2 separate regions of the Homo sapiens genome follow, and region 2 is linked to region 1. The links are contacts of gene promoters, found by promoter capture Hi-C in human tissues and cell types (Jung and others, 2019). All regions are on one chromosome and are shown on one strand. The core of a region is centred on a gene start or on the middle of the fragment in contact, and the rest is flanking DNA. Distances in the headings are between cores, read along the strand shown.

What was found. The method cuts DNA at HindIII sites, captures the fragments that hold promoters and counts their contacts. A contact is called where the count stands out against the background at its distance.
Region 2: a contact is called between a fragment that was not itself captured here and the fragment with the promoter of OR8B8 in region 1, in 1 of the 25 tissues and cell types used here (H1 embryonic stem cells).

What each region holds. Positions count from the first base shown.
Region 1 is chr11:124,442,966-124,449,880 of GRCh38, forward strand. OR8B8 (olfactory receptor family 8 subfamily B member 8) reads right to left here and starts at 2,731. Exons shown (of 3, transcript NM_012378.2): 1 at 2,611-2,731. The HindIII fragment of the contact is 11,421 bases long and covers 1-5,201 here.
Region 2 is chr11:124,475,864-124,482,778 of GRCh38, forward strand. It overlaps the pseudogene OR8B9P. Among named protein-coding and RNA genes, the nearest start is that of OR8B8, 34 kb to the left of the region's middle. The HindIII fragment of the contact is 5,845 bases long and covers 463-6,307 here.

The DNA of each region.
Region 1 (6,915 bases), core at 1,481-3,980:
ATCATAAATTAGAATCTCCAGGGGTGGGATTTTATAACTTATATTTCTCACCCTATTGATCTGGATATTTAGACAGGTTTCACCCTATTGATCTGGATGTTTAGGCAGGTTTGGGATTCAATGCCCTAATACTCTATCTACCCTACGTTTTCTAGACAGGAAAATTGAAGTCCACCAGTCAGAGTTGGTTGGTGGTGAAGTCCAGAATAAAACTTGGGTCTCCAGTCTTTCCAGTTACATTGTCTGGAGGAAGTTCACCTGGCCTTTAGTTCGGCTGGAATGTAGAGTACAGGGAGGGATATAGTTGTGCATCAACCCTGGAATAGCATCCCAGGTTCCTGCTGTGGAGAGACTTGAACGTCATGACAGGAATTACGTATGCAATGTGAATCCATGGAATATATTGAATATGAGAGTGACATGGTCAGAGTTGTGGGGAGGGAGGCCAATTAGTCTATTGGGCTACTGGGTGTTGATGACTTGATGCCATGTTCCCCCCAAATGCTATGTTTAATGTGTAATTCAGACACGATGCCATAGCTCAAAGCACCAGCAATAAGATAAAGGATGAATTTTCAAAACAAGTAGCAGGTAAATGGAGCAAAAGGCCTTTCTAAGCTTTTTAGCACATGACAAGTCACATAACGCTGGCCCTGTCTTCTAGCTGTGTTGTTCTCTGCCTACTATCCTGAATATTTTCACCAGGTCTGAGTTCAGGTCCCATCACCAAGCTCTCTGTGTTGCACATGTTTTATGCCTCATTTTATATTACTCAGCCTATCTTTTGGGCTTCTGCTGTTGCTGTGGCAGTGAGCTGCATCCAGCTATAGCCCAATAACAATGTTTCTTGACTACACTACGTATCCCCTCCTTTCAGCCCTAGGACACCTCTGCCACCACAAAGTGGTACATCTGAGAATCCATTCAGCCATTATGGTGCACGTGCTGATCTGTAAGCGTGAAGGAATTAACACCCCTGGGAGTCAGTGGGTAAATGTCTCCCTTTTGTGTATCTCCAGTGGTTCATTCTTCTTAGTACATCAAAAGATCTCAGAGGAACTAATCCTAAATTCCCCATTAAGGTAACATATAACAGAACCTTTTATTGGTTTTCTATACTTCCCTGTTTTTCTCTCTCTCTTTTCCCTGGGATGACTTCTAAAAATAAGCTATCTGCATGTATGGCCTTGTCCCCAGCACAGCTTTTTATGGAAATCCCAGCTAAGGTACTCCTAAAACAGTATTCGGATCAGGTTTCAACAAAATGTTCCTTACTCCACCTGGGAGGAAGCATCCTCACCCAAGTCTCTTTGATTCCAGGACAAGAAACTAAATATGCATCAGTAAATTCATCAAGGACCTGAAATTATTCAGTACCATGTTTCAGAGAATTTTTATGTCTTGAGCATGACCTATCAAAACACCTAAATGCCAGAAGGAGTAATCTCAAATAATTATCGGCTCACACCTTAATAGGGATTAGCCACGACAAATCCTACAGTACTTTGTTCTTAGATCTCTTGCAGCTCTACTCACAATGTATTACTGTCCTGTCCCTCCATGAACTATAATGATGCTAGCAACATTGTAGTTTTATTCACTTTTATATCTTTGAATCATATAGCTCACAAAATGTTCATTAATCTCTAATTCTCAATCTCCTCATCTATAAAATGGGGATGATGGCGATAATTCACAGTGTCGTTGTTGTGAGAGTTAAATTAAATCATGAAAGTGGAAGAGCCGAGAAGAGTGGTTGACAAAAGAAAGAGCCCTGATAAATGCTGTAGAAAATAGACATAAAACAAATATGAAATGCATATATCCTAGGGATGGCATGAGGGAAGGAAAAATCTTGCTTAAAGCTGAATGAGCCTGAAAGAGACAAGAGAGGGTCTGCCATAGGGCAGAGGAGACAGCTGACAAGAGTGAGAAGAGCCTGGGAACAATACACTCTTCAAACTTTAAGGCCTGTCTCTCCAACATAACCCAATCCACAGACAACATCAGGCCCTTGAGTATATTACCCTGTCCCTACTTCCTGTCCTACCACCAATGCCTATTTTTCAAATATCCACATTCTATCACACCACAAAAGCCAAATTCCAAAATCAGGTAAGGGTTTCTTTACAGCCTCCCATTTTCTCTTCCTATACCCATCTCTAGTCTCCTAGTCTCAGCAAAAATTCCTCTTCCCCAACATTCACAATCTTAGTGCTACTTTCCTTCAATTCTCTGTCAAAACTAAGTTTTCAAGAAGAATCTCACAAATTCATCAGCACACAGTCTACTACAACTTGCTGGGGACAATCCACATTCTTCACCCTCTTCCAGGCATTTCTTAAAATGAAGACAAAGTCTTTAGCAAAAAAAAAATAGATCTCTAGTTATGAAATTTCAAACAGCACTCAGTTAATGAGAGGTACATTTTGGTCAGGATAAGGCAGCTGAAGTGGTGGCTTCACAATTAGAGCCCCATTGGCAGCTGTCTGACCTCCATGCAGCAAGCTAATTACCACCCTTCTTCCAGTCCTGTGTGTGTAGTGGGTGTGTGTGCGCACACACGTGTGTGTGTTTTGTGTATAAGTGCTGGGTAACATTTGAACATACCTCAGAGCTTGCTCCTCTGCCACATGTGGAATGTATTTTAGTCACTGCTCAGAAACAAGATGCCTCAAGTGTAACTCTTATACCTAGAAATCTGCCACTCCCTCAGTGATTATGAGAAACCTCAATCCTTGCTCTCATTCCCACTGTAGTCAACTCACAATTTAAGAAAATAAGTCATTATTACAAGCATGAAATGAGTCCCACAGGAAAGGTGCTCCTTAGGGCACAGAAAGCAAGACTCCGGCTTCATTAAAAGTTGACTTTTCTCTGGGAGCCTTAGAGGATTCCTGTTTGGATGGTAGAACAACCAAGAAAAGTTCTTCTGGATGTATGTCATTTTAAAGCCTGTTGCCATGGAAACTACTCTTCAAAATCCTCTCAACTGGGGCTTTACTAAAGTCTTGTTGCCTGAGGAGCAGATGAAGCCCAAGCAGGAAGCAGTGTAGGAAGAACTATTCTTAACTCTGTTCCTTTTGTTGCAGAACTGCCCTCCTTCCAAAACTTGGATTTCTGTATAGTGCTTCTTTGTTTTATTTATTTCTATTTTTTCCTAACTTTTCAAAATTACATTCTAATTTGTGTGATTTCATATGTGACACATGAATATGAGTCAATACAATGTTTCTCACACACACACATTAACCCTCAGACTTCTGGTGGCACAAGGTTGGACCCAACTGCAGCAACCATCACAGCATACCAAGAAGACCAAGTACAAGTTTCATAAGAAATTACAGAACCTGATCAGAGAAAAAAGATGGCAACTGAAAGGTCTTCATTTGAAATGGCCTTCATTCACTCCTGAGAAAGCAATATCAGCAGTAATCTGTTTCTGCATTATACTTAATCTGACTTTACTTTTATTATTTTCAACTCATTGATATACAAACCTATGCATAAATTATATATGTATTTAATATAGAATTCTAGAGTTAGATGGGACCTTGGAGGTCTATGTTGGGGAATAATTACCATGTATAAACACATATGTATCAACCACTGTGCAGAAAGTTTTATATACATTATGTCATTTGTAGAAAATGAGTAATCTGCACAAAGTGCAAAGCTGACATTTTAAAAAACATCATCCAATCATATTTTAGTATCATTAGTATTAAGAATACTAATACTAGTACTAATATGTTATACTTTGTAAGTGCTGACCATGTGCTAGGAACTATCCTAAATGCTTTACACATATTAATGCCATTAGTTTTCACGAGTTATATTAAATGGTTACTTTTATTATCCTACTCTGCACAAGAACATTTCCTTGAATTAAAAAAATCAAACCTGTTTATCTGTTAGTTGGGACAACCTTGTCTCTTTAGGCCTCAAGTATTTGTAGTGATAGAGGATTAATAAATTTGCTAGATTAATGGTTATAAAGGAAGAATCGAGAGGGAAGACCAAGTGTCAAAGGTTACTAAAGTCTCAACCCCAGGGCCTAGAAATAAGGAAGTAAAGAGATAAATAAAGAGGTAGAATTTAGACCTGACTTTCATGTGCTGAAAGTACATGTAAGAGCAAATGGTCAGTAGTGAGTCATCAGCATGAGATCAGAGCTGAGAAAAAGATATCAAGACACATATTGAGAAGTCATGTAAATAAAAGTGATTGCAGAAACTACAAGTTAAGGGTAAAGGGTGGAACCATATAATTATCCATGATCAATAAAAGGGAAGGAGAAAACTGTTAGTAAATTTGTCAGAGAAGGCAAATATGGTACCCTGAGCAGGCTTTGTAGCAAAATGACCTGGGATCTCCTTAGGTCTCCCACTAGCCAAGCGAGCTTACGCTATTTGGACTTCAGTAACTACATCTGAAATCAGATATGTTAGCACCTAGCATACAAGATTGTATGAGGATCAACTATCATAGTGTTCAATAAGTAGCTTCGAATTAACAAAGTGTTATAGACTTACTGAAGTATTATTACTACACATCTTTTTTATCCACTTAGTCTAATTTATCCTGCTTTAGGAGTTACTTACCCCAGCCACAATTATGTTATAAGCTACTAAAGTCAAGATCATATGTTTGGAACTGGGGGCTATGCCTGTAATTTCAACAACTAAGGAGGCTAAGGCAGGATGATCATTTGAGGCTAGGAGTTTGAGACCAGTCTGGGAAAAATAGAGAGACTTTGTCTCTTAAAAGTAAATAAATAAATAAATAAATAGCCAGGGTGGTGGCACACATCTGTAGAGTCAACTACTTGGAAGGCTAAGGCAGGAGGATCTCTTGAGCCCAGGAGTTGAAGGCTGCAGTGAGCTATGATTACACCACTGCATTCCAACCAGGGTGACAGAGCGAGACCCTGTCTCTAGAAAAAAAAAAATCATATCTAGTTTAAAAATCTAGTCAGAGCAAGATGGCTGATTAGAGATACCTGACTGTCATCTCTCCCACAAGAAAAGACCAAGACAATGAATAAACAGCCAAGACTAGACTGGAGTGTCAATGTGAGAGCACCAGAATGCAGCAAGGGAGTGGAGATGCATCTGTGATGATGGAAAATCCAAGAAGGCAGACTCTGCATCCATGTCTCCCCAGTCCAGATCAGACTGGCCCAGAAACAGGAGGGACTTCTCATTACAGGGAAAATACATACTCCCAGGCCAGCAAAGCAGCTGTGTACCTATGTGCTGGACCTGAGAAAGAGCCCTGGGAACCAACCATAGGCCAGCCAAGCAGACTTGTGCCCACATCACAGGCCTAACAAACAGTCTCATGAGCTGCCCCTAGTAGACACACTCCCAGGCTGAATGAGCAGCTGTACACCCATGTCTTGAGCTGGAGGAAGAGCCCTGTGGGCCACCCCCAGCAAACACACACACCACAGCTGAGAAGCCACGTGACTGTGTCTGGGGCCTGAGAAACACCCCTGTGGGCTACCTCTGGCAGACATGTCACCAAGCTGGCCAAGCAACCACATTCCCATGCAGCCAAGAGTAACAGCCCCATGGCCTCAACTGCAGCAAGGTAGACCCTGAGTTAGTTGGCCCACCAAGTGCATGCACATGTCCCTAACCTGAGAAACAGCCCAGCAAGCCCACCCCTGGCAAAGCTGTACCACCACTGCCATAAACTCTCTCAGTCTAGGCTACCAAGAAACTCACAAATGCCACTAGTGTGGATTACAGCTGAAGAAACTACACAGAAACCACACTATTGGGCTTACCTAGAACCAAGGCCAACACATTCCACTGAACCAACACCCCAAGACTCATTTATAAGAAACTATACAGAGACTACACTATTGGGTTTACCTAGAACCAAGGTCAACACATTCCACTGAACTGTCACCCCAAGACTCATTTAAACAAATAAGACTTTTCCTAAGAAACCTACTACATAAAATTGGAAAAGGTGACTTTTCCACCAGATAAGTAGAAATCAACACAGGGACATATCAGCAATAAAAAAGCAGGAAAACATGTCACCTCTAAAAGAAGATAAGAATTTGTTAGTAACAGACCCTAATCATAATGTATAAACTTCCAGAAAAAGAATTTAAAATAATTCTCCTAAGGAAACTCACCGAGATATAAGAGAATACATCTAGACAATTCAACAAATCTGTGAAAATGATTCATGATTTAAATTAGAAATTCAACAGTGAGACAGATATTATAAAAGAACCAAACAGAAAACCTAGAGCTGAAAAATTCATAAATAAAATAAAAAAAACACAATTAAGACCTTCAGTCACAGACTAGACCAAACAGAAAAAAGAATCTCTGAACTTGAAGACAAGTATTTTGAAAAAACACAGGCAGACAAAAAAAAAAGAATCAAAGGATTTATGTAACATCATTAACCAAACAAATGTCCATGTTATGGGTATTTCAGAAGGAGAAGAAAGGTAAAAATATGAGGAAGTCATATTTGATAAAATAATATCAGAAAATCTCCCCAGTCTTGGCAGATAAATGGACATCCAGTTTCAGAAATCTTAAAGGACCCCAGATATATTTAACCCAAACAGATCCTCTCTCAAGTACATTATAGTCAAATTGTCAAAAGTCAAAGATGAAGAAAGAATTTTAAAAGCAGCAAGATAAAAGTATCAAGTTACATATAAGAAAATATCCGTAGGCCTAACAGTGAATTTCTCAGCAGAAACTTTGTGAGCCAACAGAGAATGGGATAATATATACAAAGTACTGAAAGAAATAAAACTGGCACCCAATAATATTATACCAGCAAAGCTATCCTTCAGAAATGAAGGAGAAATAAAATATTTCACAGACAAGCAAAAACTAAGGGAATCTATCACCACTAGACCAGCCTTACAAGAAA
Region 2 (6,915 bases), core at 2,135-4,634, 34 kb after region 1:
ATAAGCAGTTATTCTCTTCTCACTTCTTCCTGCAGTTTTCAGGGAGTCAGTTTGTTCTGTGACCTCAATTCTCTGATGGCTCTAAGAAAAGTGGTTGATTTTGAGTTTGTTTGGCTTTTTACTTGTGAGGATAAGAGTTATAACTTCCAACCTCTCTGAGCTCAAACCATCTCTTATTTTTTAAAACAGATATGTAAGTTAATACATAAGTGTTTGTTGAATTGAAAATGTTTGCCATTTTGGTATCTTAAGAGCTCAATGTCTCTTCCTCCGGGACAGCAACAATCAAGCAAAGATACAGGTGATCAAATCACGGGGTGGAGGTGGAAAATCAGAAGAAACCAAAATGTTGCCAGAGTTGAAATTACCATGGGTTATCTGTGTTGCTTCCTCTCCTCTCCTCTATCCTCTTCTGTCCTGTTCATTCTCTAACCCATGCCTCTTCTGTGTTTGATTTCTCTTCTTGTTGCCTAATAATATCCTATGCTCCCTCCTCTTTAAGTCATTTCCATTGGAAGATACATCCCTAAATCCCCTTTTATTAAATTTCAAAACAAAAAAGGGTCTCTAGATACATAAATATGTAGGTAGATAGATAGAAGGTACAGAGATATGCTTGTGTATACCTATTCTATTTCTGGGAATAGTTGCATCCAGGAGGAAGAACATAAGCATGGGTGAACTGATGTGAAAGGAAACCTTATTTCTACTGTATACTTTTTTGTACTGTTTAATTTTTTACCATGACATGTATTCTCAAGAAAAATGTATTCCTTCTTAAGTGGAAGCTGTTAATCACCCACCCATAATCTAATTACTGCCATCTGCAGAAGAAAACAAATCCTACAGCAAACATCTTATTCAACAGTGAAAGCCTTAATGCCTTTACCCTAAGGTCAGAAACAAGACAGGGTCATCCATTCTCATCTCTATTAATCATTGTATTGGAAGTCTTAGACAGGACACTGAAAAAAATAAAATAGATAAAAGGTATAAAGACCATTAAGGAAGAATCAAACCTGTCTTTATTTGCAGATTACATGAGTATATACAGAAAAAACAAAGTACAAATTCTTAGTTTCTCTTTTGTCGAGTTTAGCTAACAATTAGATTTCATAAGTGAAATAACAAAGATGCTAGATACAAATTCAGTATACAAAAAACAACTGTGCTACTACATACTACTAATAATTGAAAATTAAATTTTAAAAAGTTATTTAAAATAAAGTAAAAGGTATGAAAGGTATGAAATTCCACTTCGAAACAAGAAAAGCATGTCTGTTTTCCTCATTACTATTCACCATTGTAATGGGAGAATACAGCACTTTGGCTCCATGTCAACTTCTCTCAAATTAGTCCCACTAAATTATTGTCACTTGATCTTCAAATACACACGTACAAATATAGCCAATACAATTCAGGGAGGAGAGAAGGTCTTTTCAATAAATGATGCTGATGCAACTTAATATCTTTATGAAAGAAATAAAACAACTGCACACCATACATGATAACTGATTTAAAATTGATCTAAAATCTAAATTTTAAAGGAAAAATCATGAAGCTTTCAAAGGAAAACCTGAGAATGACTTTGTGACTATGTAGTAGGAAAAAAATTAAACAGAAGAAAGCATGAACAGTAAAAGAAGTGGACAAATGAACTTTATTCAAATTGAAATTGAAATATCATTATCAAAGGACATAATTAATGAGTAGTCATGGGGCAAGCCAGAGACTGAGTAAAGATAACTGCAATGTGTGTGTCTGAAAAAGTACTCATATCCAGATTATACGTTTTAAAAAACTAATCAATAAGAAAAAAGAATAACAACACTTTTTTTTTTTTTTTTTGAGATGGAGTCTCACTCTGTCGCCCAGGCTGGAGTGCAGTGGCGCGATCTCGGCTCACTGCAACCTCCGCCTTCTGGGTTCATGCCATTCTCCTGCCTCAGCCTCCCAAGTAGCTGGGACTACAGGTGCCCACCACCACACCAGGCTAATTTTTTTGTATTTTTAGTAGAGACGGGGTTTCATCATATTAGCCAGGATGGTCTCGATCTCCTGACCTCTTGATCCGCCTATCTTGGCCTCCCAAAGTGCTGGGATTACAGGTGTGAGCCACCGTGCCCAGCAACAACACTATTTTTAAGTAGCCAAATGACTTGAACAGGCACTTCACAAATGGTGATGTCCAAATAGCTAATGAACATATAAAAAGTGCCCAACAAGGCTGGGTGTGGTGGCTCACACCTGTAATCCCAACACTTTGGGAGGCCAAGATGAGAGGATCACTTGAGCCCAGGTATTTGGTAACAGCCTGGGTAACATAGTGAGACCTCATCTCTACAAAAAATAGAAAAAGTGGCCAGGTGTGGTGGCATGTACCTATAGTTCCAGTTGCTCAGCAGGCTGAGACAGGAAGATAGCTTGAGCCCAGGAGTTCAAAGCTCCAGTGAGCCATGATCACACCATCGCACTCCAGCCTGACAACAGAGCAAGACTTTGTCTGTTAAGAAAAGGTCAGGAGTTCGAGGCCAGCCTGGCCAACATAGTGAAACCCCGTCTCTAGTAAAACTACAAAAATTAGCCAGGTGTGGTGGCAGGCTCCTGTTACCCCAGCTACTCGGGAGGCTAAGGCAGGAGAATTGCTTGAACCTGGAAGGTGAAGGTTGCTGTGAGCCGAGATCATGCCACTGCACTCCAGCCTAGGCGACAGAGCAAGACTCCGTCAAAAAAAAAAAAATCATTATTTATCAGGGAAATATCTAAAAGACTAAAGCAATACTGTACTACACACCCAACGGAGTAATTAAAATGAAAAATACTGAAAATAAGGATGAAGAGTATCCTTTTCTGGAATTTATTGATGGGAGTGCAAATCAGTTTAAATATTTTGGAAGACAATTTGATAGCATTTAGAAGCCTAAACATATGCCTACCTTGTGACCCATAAAATCTACATCTAGGTATATACCCAAACAAAAATAAGTGTATATTTCCAGCAAAATACATGTTCAAGAATGTTTATAGGCCAGGCATGGTGGCTTATGCCTGTAATCCCAGCACTTTGGGAGGCCGAAGCAGACAGATCACGAGGTCAGAAGTTGGAGGCCAGCCTGGGCAACATGGTGAAACCCTGTCTCTACTAAAAATACACAAATTGGCTGTGTGTGGTGGTGGGTGCCTGTAATCCCACCTACTTTGGAGGCTGAGGCAGGAGAATGATTTGAACCCGGGAAGTGGAGGTTGCAGTGAGCCGAGATCGTGCCATTGCACTCCAGCCTGGGCAACAGTGCGAGACTATGTCTCAAAAAAAAAAAAAAAGGAATGTTTATAACAGCTTTATTAATAACATGTAGAAATTGAAAACAAGGCAAATGTCCATAAAGAAGATATTGATAAGCAAATTGCTCTACATTCTTACAATGGAATACTAAAATAAACAGCAATAACCAAGAAAACTGTTATGGATGAATCTCACATGACTCTCTATGTTAAGTGAAACGTAAGAAAGTAAATGCACTATTTAACATTTATATGAAGTTCAAGCACGAGAAAAATGAAACTGTGATGATAAAGTAAGAATAGTGAATATTTCCAGGAAGAGCATGGGGAGTAGTAATTACTGGGAAAGGGCAGGCAGGAGTACCCTGAAATGATAAAAAATCTGCTATATTTTCATTTGGGTGGAGGTAAGTAATCATAGCCTTATAAATGTGAAAAAAAATCATCGAGCAGTTAATGTTTGTGCACTTCACTGTAAAATTTATATTTCAATTTAAGAAGGAGTAGGGTGTTTTCATTGTACTGATTCTCCACCATTCCCAGTGCACCCTCAATCCATGTGTCTTGAATTTCATCATCATTCATCTCCCTTAGCATCAAAACACAACCCTCCCCTACACTTTCATTTCCTGAATTCTATCCTCGTTAAACCAAAAGATTCCAAAGGAAGAAAGCTAAACATTAATCCGAACTTCCCCTTTTTCTAATAGAAGATAACTTTTCAAAGTTTGTAAATTAAACTATCTTCCAGACAGTTCATATGCCATGACTTCTGAAATAATTGTTACCATTACTAATGTATTCAGATCAAAAAAATTACTCTCATTCGTTATACAAAGTTGTACTTCCACTTACCCAATGCTGTGAATATATGACCTCTCCTAAGACCACCGTCCCTTCCCTTTATGCCCTATTGTTATTAATAGAAGGTCACAGATATATGCAATGTCTTAACTATATAATGGCAATTGCCTCCCCTAACAACTAGTTGGCTGCCGTGGTTCTAATGGCTCACTTATCCAGAGCTGTCTATTACTAATTTACATTATTCAGACCTTTGAGGTGAGGCTCCAAATTCTGTCTCCGTTAATCTTCAGATGAAGAATAAAGCTTGTATCTAACAAATTTAACTCCCTCAACTCTGTTTATCTCTCCCTTAGAAGGCCTTCTATTGTAAGCCTTCACTCAAGGCTCTATACCATCTCCATGGGCACCATCCTTGATTCTATAAGGAACCTAATCTACTTCTCACTCACACACCCCAAAATTCTTTAAAATTTTCTCTTATCTTTTTGTCAAGACCACATCAACCACATTTTTCACTTCCAACACTCTTGCAAAAATGTTATTCCAAAAATTAACCTTTGAAAAGTTGCATGACATCACTATGAATATAATTAGATATCTTTAAATGCAAAAAAAAAAATTTTAAATGAAATCAGTCAGGGAAACGATGGAACAAGGAAGTGTAGCTGAAGAAAAACACAGCAGATTGTATTAAAATTCAAGAGCCTGGACTCTAGTTTCAGCTCTGGCATCAGGTACATGTGTGTCCTTTGGCAGCCTACAAAATATTTTTGAGTGTGATGTATTGCATGAGGAGACTGGAGTAAATGATTTCATAAGCCTATTCAAGATTAAACCCTGTATAACAGTAGAAACTATTCTCATAAAATAACAATTGGAATAGTTGGTGTGGATAAGCAGTGCAGGGTGTAAGTGCACTTAAGAATACATTTAAAATTTTTCTCTAAGTATAGGAGAGAAAGCAGTGGCATTTGTTCCCTCACTGAAAAAAAGAAAAGAAACCCCCTGATTAACAAAGGTTTGGATTCCCTTTCTCATTCATTTTTAAGAGACTAATTTTCTGCAAAAGGTTCTCCTCAGGGCAACTTTGACATCTTTATTCCTCAGGCTGTAGATTAATGGGTTAAACATGGGCACCACAGCAGTACAAAAAATGGAGGACACTTTCCCCTGGTCCAGGGGTAGAATAGAAGGTGGTTTGAGGTACATGAAAGCACCTGACCCAAAGAAAAGCGATACCACAATTATGTGGGAACTGCAGGTACTGAAGGCTTTAGACCTGCCCTCTGTGGAACTAATGTGGAGAATGCTGGAAAGAATAAAACCATAAGAGAGAAAAATGGTGACAATCGGCACCCCAATGCCAACGGTCACAATAATAAAAACCACCAGCAAATTTATGTAAGAGCTGTTGCAGGAGAGCTCAAGGAGAGGAAGGATGTCACACATATAGTGATTGACAAGGTTGTCTCCACAAAAGGACATAAACATTATGTTTCCCATATGAGCCACAGCCCCAAAATCCCCATCCCATAGACACCCAGTAAAAGGAGCAAACACATCTGGGGAGACATGGTGACCGTGTACAACAGTGGGTTACAGATGCCCACGTAGCGGTCATACGCCATCGCTGATAGAATATAGGATTCAGAAAAGACAAAGAAACAGAAGAAAAAAAGCTGAGTCATACACCCTGCATAGGAAATGATGTTCTCTGAGACAAAGCTCATCAGCATTTTAGGGGCGAGGGTAGTGGAATAACTAAAATCTATGAAGGACAAGTTGAAGGGGAAAAAGTACATGGGGATATGCAGGCGAGAGTTGAGCCCTATCAGGATTATCAAGCCCAGGTTCCCCACCACCGTGACCGCGTAGAAACCTAGAAACAGGAAGAAGGCGGGGATCTGGAGTCCCGGCTGGTCGGTTAAGCCTGAGAGGATAAACGCTGTCACGGAGGAGGAGTTCTTGGCAGGCATTCTCCTCTAGGACTGTCTGTGAGAGAAAAAGAAAGAGTCACTCAGAAAGAGAGAAAGGCTACACACACCGGGAGGTTAATGGAAATTAAGGTAGTGGGAGGGAGAAGAAAAGAAACATTTACTGAGCACTAACTATGGGATAGGCACTGTTCTAAACGCTGTGTGGCGTTACACTCATCCCTGTCTGGGTTACCTGCACAAAGTCCCAGGGCTATAGAGTTGCCGCAGCAGGAGAGCTCTGCGGTCTGACTCCCCTGGTCTGAGCATTTTTGTGGGGGTGGGGTGGGGGGGGTGGCAGGGATAAAGACTTTATTTTCCACTGTATAATCTCAATGTTCACTTGGTTTTTAGTTGTTTTTTTTTTTTTTTAACACAAATTAACCATTTAAAACTTGTAATTAAATGATACTCAATTACAGAGGAAAATATCCACAGTGCTATAGAAAAAAAAATACCAATGGACACAGGAAATATTATCAACATGACTCATCATTAAATAAATGCAGATTGAAGGTAGGAACAATGATATGAGTTAGTGTGCGCTTCACAGGAACATCGAAATTACTCCTCTTATCTTCTCACAGTTGACACTGAGCCTTCAGTGACAAGCCGGGGCTCTGACAGCTGAGAGTGGTCTGAGCTTTCTTTTAACCACTCTGCTGTGGCACCCAGTGGCTGTGGCACCCAGTGGCTCAGACAGGCACTCACCCCCTTCAGCTTGGAGCCATGGTGCTGCTCTCTACTGCCCGTTGCCCATCTCTTTCACGGAAACCCAGTGGCCCTGCTGAAAAGAATGTGACAACTTGGAGCCCAGGCCCCTCTGCTTCTGCTTCTCCACCTTGAGAATCCT